Linked DNA regions of Homo sapiens: region 2 is linked to region 1. Evidence: promoter capture Hi-C in 16 types of primary human blood cells and fetal thymus (Javierre and others, 2016). All regions are on one chromosome and are shown on one strand. The core of a region is centred on a gene start or on the middle of the fragment in contact, and the rest is flanking DNA. Distances in the headings are between cores, read along the strand shown. Region 1 overlaps PRKACB (protein kinase cAMP-activated catalytic subunit beta). Region 2 holds the start of SSX2IP (SSX family member 2 interacting protein).

The links. The method cuts DNA at HindIII sites, captures the fragments that hold promoters and counts their contacts. A CHiCAGO score of 5 or more calls a contact.
Region 2: a contact is called between the fragment with the promoter of SSX2IP here and a fragment that was not itself captured in region 1, in 9 of 17 cell types (megakaryocytes, erythroblasts, total CD4 T cells and 6 more). The highest score is 8.1, in megakaryocytes.

What each region holds. Positions count from the first base shown.
Region 1 is chr1:84,181,102-84,183,801 of GRCh38, reverse strand. PRKACB (protein kinase cAMP-activated catalytic subunit beta) reads right to left here. Exons shown (of 10, transcript NM_182948.4): 3 at 1,474-1,602. Among named protein-coding and RNA genes, the nearest start is that of PRKACB, 38 kb to the right of the region's middle. The HindIII fragment of the contact is 1,661 bases long and covers 458-2,118 here.
Region 2 is chr1:84,689,192-84,691,891 of GRCh38, reverse strand. SSX2IP (SSX family member 2 interacting protein) reads left to right here and starts at 1,431. Exons shown (of 14, transcript NM_001166293.2): 1 at 1,431-1,521. RefSeq lists a silencer at 1,220-1,979. The HindIII fragment of the contact is 1,864 bases long and covers 959-2,700 here.

The DNA of each region.
Region 1 (2,700 bases), core at 39-2,538:
CTTAGGAAGGTCAATTATGGTTTCAATTAAGAAGTGAGAGCTAAGTAGGAATAAGAAACAAACTCATAAGAAATTACTTTAAAAATTAGTTATGTCAATTATGCTTAAATAAATATATAATTACTTAAGGTAATTTAAAAATGAATGTGAAAATACTAAGGTCCTAATGACTTAAAGTCCTCTATAAAAGCTGGCTCAAATCTCTGCAATAAGTAGATAGTGATTTTAAATACTTCAGAAGATGAATAAGAAAATTAAAAATGAAGAGAAAGTCCATAACTGAAAAATAGTGAGTAAAAATGAACAATTTTCATTTTATAATATCTAAATAAATATAGGTATAAATTCTAAAAATTTATTTTATATTGCCATAGAAGAGGACACACAAAATATTGGGGAAAAAACTATCTTTATAACAAAAACTATCTTTGTATCCTAGGTCATTTAGACTTAAGCTTCCTCTAGATTTTCTATTTAATAGAAGGGGAAAGTAATTTATCTTGACTTCACGAAGACTGTGATTCTATTCCATATGTGATTCTATTTTGAATTTAAGAAGTGGTGACTTTAGCAAGACATATAAATAATTTTCTTGTATATGTGTAAATCATTAGAAGGTGGCATTCTTTCTTGCTGGAGTCTAATGGTCAATGTGAGGATAGTCACAGAAGTCAAGAAGTTAAATATAAATAACAAAAGTAATTAAAGATACCAGCCAGGTATTAATATATAAAATTAGGAGTATACTGATAATATTGAGCAAATAAATTGAGTAGGAGTCAGATTTGTGTTTTAATCTAGGCCTTTTATTTAACTAACTTTCTGACTTGAGATGATTTCAAATCTTTGGGCCTCAGGTTTTCAAAATTTGTAACATGAAGTGGTTGGATCACTACTGTACACATTTTAACTTCTGTAATAGTTACAAAACAAATTAGTCCATAATTGTCACAATAAATTATAGTTGTCCATCAGTATCCCTGGGGGTTGGTTCCAGGACCTACAGCAGAAACCAAAATGCCCAGGTGCTCAAGTCCCTTATATAAAATGACAGAGGCTTTGCATAAAGCCTATACACACTGTCCATATACTTTAAATCATCTCTAGATTACTTATAATACCTGATATATTGTAAATGCTATGTAAATAGTTGTTACACTGTATTGTTTAGGGAATAATAACAAGAAACAAAAGTCTGTACATGTTAGGTATAGATGTAATTTTTTTCCCAAATATCTTCAATCTGTGATTGGTTAAATCCATGGACGTGGAACCCATAGATATGGAAGGGCTGACTGTATACTAACTATGTATAATATAGTTACAATAAAAATTTAGTTACAATAAAAATTAAATTTAATAATAAAATTATTTGAAGCTGTCAATGGTAAGTCATTATACTGAATCTGTTTAATAGTCTAGCTGATAAAACTAAAGTTTACCCTGAAGGTAAATAACAACAAATACACTCACCTTCTGCTTATCTAAGATCTTCATGGCATAATACTGTTCAGTGGCTTTGTGTTTTACCAACATGACTCTTCCAAATGAACCTGTTCCAAGGGTTTTTTTCCTTTCAAAATCTTCAAGTCCGGCATTATTCTATATGTAAATACATAAATAAAATTTAAAATTCTCGTAAAAACACTATGGGAATTATAAATGCTTTAATAATACATAATCATAATGGATAATCCCATTTATAACTATCCATTTAAATGCAATACAAAAAAGCTATTGAGATTCCAGTTTATTGGTTCTATTTTTCCCTTTGAATAAGAAAGTATTTAATATCTGAGGAGAGAATGTATTGGAAAACAGAGCATAATAGTAATAGGAGGAAATAAGAGCCTCAGCTGAAATATTAAAGATTATATTCCAGTATGCATTCCTAGTATTGGACTTTAATCTTACTACTGAACTTCCAATAAATTAGTTTCATATTTTAATAATTACAAACTGACCAGAGGCATACTGACAAAGAGTCATAGAAGCCATACAGACTTAATGCACTTGCAAATAACTGTAATGAATAGATAAACTGAGGGATCAGAGCTCTTTCACTAAAGTTACCTGTGAAGAAATCAGTCTTGCTTCATTTCTGTCTTTATATAAGCTTATAGAACTAGATAGTAGCAGCATGAGAGAGCCTAGTGGCTTTCTCTCTTTATATTATAAAAACACAGTATTATCTAAAACAACAACAATAAGGAAAGAAGAGTTCCTCATTCTACAAAGAACCAAAAGCCAGAATCCCAGAACAATAATCAGACTCTTTTTTTCTTGAATAGATGTTTTGTTATAAGGAAACATCTTTGTTTGGCTTTGACTACAGCACAGAAGCAAATAATTGGAGGCATCAATCTATTAAATTTGTTCCTGCCACAACAAAATGAAAATTATTAGGGACAAATTATGTGTTAAATGGCAAGAAGTAGTAATTGCTGACCCATTTGTTTAATAGGTTTCATTGCAAAGAACTCCATGAAAATATCAGAAAAATATTCTGAAGGCCCAGTATGTAGTGTTTAGCTTGAAAAAATGTGATGCAGTATGATTCTTTGTCCAGTGAGGAATTTGTATAGGTATTACAGTTCACTGTAGTTGGATTTTATCTGTATTGCAAATCAAACCTTGCCTTTTGAGACCCATTTTAGCTTTCTGTTGGATCATTACAGACAGCAGGCAATTCTGTTTTAC
Region 2 (2,700 bases), core at 182-2,681, 510 kb before region 1:
TGTTTTAATATTAATAGCTGTAACCAACATAAAGAAAAGTTCTTGGGGCTCTCAATAATTTTACAAGTGGAAAGCGGTCTTGAGACCAAAAGATTGAGACCGCTGGTTTATTCAGGCAGATCTTATTCCTTTCCCGGGGTTGCTGAGGTCAGAGCTAAACTTCCCAGAGCTCAACTAAGCTTGGTTCAAACCTTTTAAAAATGTAACTGTTAATGGTAACGCCACCTGGGCTCAACAGCAGCTAGACGGGCCTCTGATTGCTTGGCCAAAGGAAAAGAGGAGGATTTCGTTGGGCCCTGAAGTTGTCACCGTGGCGTGCTTCTTCTGGCCCTGATCTTTCATCCAGGATTGGGGATACGTGCATGCAAACTGGGAGGTGGACATTCCTCCCGCTCTTGTTTTTCAGTGTTAGCATCTTCACTCATACTGTTTTGGTTTCAAAGTGCTCTCAGGAGTCTCCTTAAAACACCAAACCTGTTTTTCGCCTTTTGAATAAATCCCTTGGCTTCACCAAAACTAAACAAAACAAAAATCAAAGAACATCTTTGTGTAACCTATATGCCTGTGATTTCTCCATCTGATCTCCTTTCTCTGGCCTCTTTTCTTTTCTTCCCCAGTGAATTTTAGGCTGCCATGAAACCAGGGAGGAGACAGCCTGACCCTGGCCACGGGTGCAGCAGGCATACATTTTCATCGCACATACTTTGTCGAGTGGGTGTAAGACATTTTTGCATAAACTGAGTTCACGAATGCTATTTCTTAGTCTTTCCTTTGCCCGCGGTCTTCTGCCCAGATCCATTTCTTCGCCCTAATTTTACATATAACTTTCTCCCGGCTGGATTGTTTGCATCCACGACTCCCGACGCTTGAACCTCCCGTTCCTTGGACCTGACCTAATTCTAGGTGCCCGCAGTTTATTTCTCCACTTTGGCAAACGCACGTGGCTCTCCTGGAAGCTTCACTTTTGCTGCTAGGCTGGGTGTTGGGGTTCAGTGGGGCTCGGAAAACGTGCTCTAAAGTAGCCACGACCCCGGTCCCTGCAGAGTCCCGGCCCCCACAGAGCCCCGGCCCCGGACGCTGCAGGCGTCAGAAGGGGGCGGGGAGCAGAAAACGGCCGGGTGAATCACTGGGCGTAACAGGTGCCGCAGCCGCAGCTGCGCCCGCAGCGCGCGCGGACCGCAGGGATAAGGTCTTCTTTTTCTCCGGGTTTTTTTGGAGGTAAGGAGGAGACTACCGAGGCCCCCACCCGACCAATGCAGGCCACGGTTGTTCATCGCCTAGCAACTGGCGGAGCCAATGGGAGGCGGCGGGGCCTGCGGCGCCGGCGCGCGGGGGCGGGGTGGGAACCTCGGAAACCTGCGGAGGCCGGGAGGCGGCTGCAAGGGGCGGGGAAGGCGGGAGCCCGCAGCGGAGGAGGGGCCGCGGGCGGGAGGCGCTGCGAGGCGCTGCTGGCCCTCGGGCTGCGGGAGCCGGGCTAGGACGCCGAGCGGTGACTCCCCGCCGCTCCCGGGGGCCGTGACGGTGAGCAGCAGCGCCTCGCGTCGGGGATTGTGACGCGCCCCGCCAGGGAGGGGCGGGCGGGGGTGGGCGCCGGCAAGGGGCGGGCGCGCGCGGAGGTGAGAGCCGGCACCTGGCTCAGCGCCCCGTTGTTCGGCGGGAGGCTCCGCGCGGCTGTTGGGGCCGTTGCAGGGTGCGGGCGAGCGTCGACCCGGGCCGCTCCTGGAGGAGGAGGTGGGAGGTAGGTGCTGGCCCCGGGACCGCTCTCGCTGGCGTTCGCGGAGCTGCGCCTGCGGAGCGCTCTGACCCGGGGAGCCCCAAACCCTCTCTGGGATGGAGCAAGGTTGGCGCCCGGCGTTGGGGGACGAGCAGCGCGGGGACGTGGGGGAGGAGGGGATGGCCGATTTGGGGCTGCAGAGTCTCAGCAGCGGCCGTGGGGCATGCGGGGTTTGGCGATTTGCTAGTGCAGCCGCAAGAGGCAGTCTTTAAAACGAGTTATTGGGTGGCCGCTGCAGTGGAAGAGAACCCCGATAGTGGTCTAGTAAAAAGTCTAGGGGAAGAATTTACATCATCCAAGAGGCAGGCATGTGTGAAAATACTTTGGTTTATAATTTTATCATGAAAATACTTTGGTTTAGAATTTTATAGTCAACGACAGTAAACTGAATTGTGAGCTCCCTGCACATTTTTTGAGCCTATGCTGATTGCCCAGTTAGGCATATCGCTTGGGCCCAGGACATAGAATATACTAATTTGCTGTCTGCACGTATAATGTAGGAATTTTTAGATTATTACCCAGTTTCAGGACCCATAGTTGTAAATGCCAAACTGCGATTACTAGCAACGCTGATAAAGTTCTTGAATCTGAGAGAATTGAGATTTCTCTTTTCTGGACGCTGTAATAGGTTGAGGATTAGAAAAGAAGGTGATTTAGAAGTGTAAGGGTGGAGGCTTCTTGAACTTCCTGGGCTTTCTAACAATTCAGATTAGAGTCAAGGTGTAGAGTTAGCTGTGGGTGATGGATGTCATGGACCTTTTCATGGTTCATGGGGGTTTGGCTTACTGTGGGGTAGAAGAAAATTCTGGTGATCCTACAGTTTGATCCTGAACTAGAAAGGTTGGTATGAGTTGACTCATTTAGGAGAGTGAATAAAATTTGTAAAGAATTAGAAATTTGGAGAGGAAAGAAATGCCTTTAAAGTT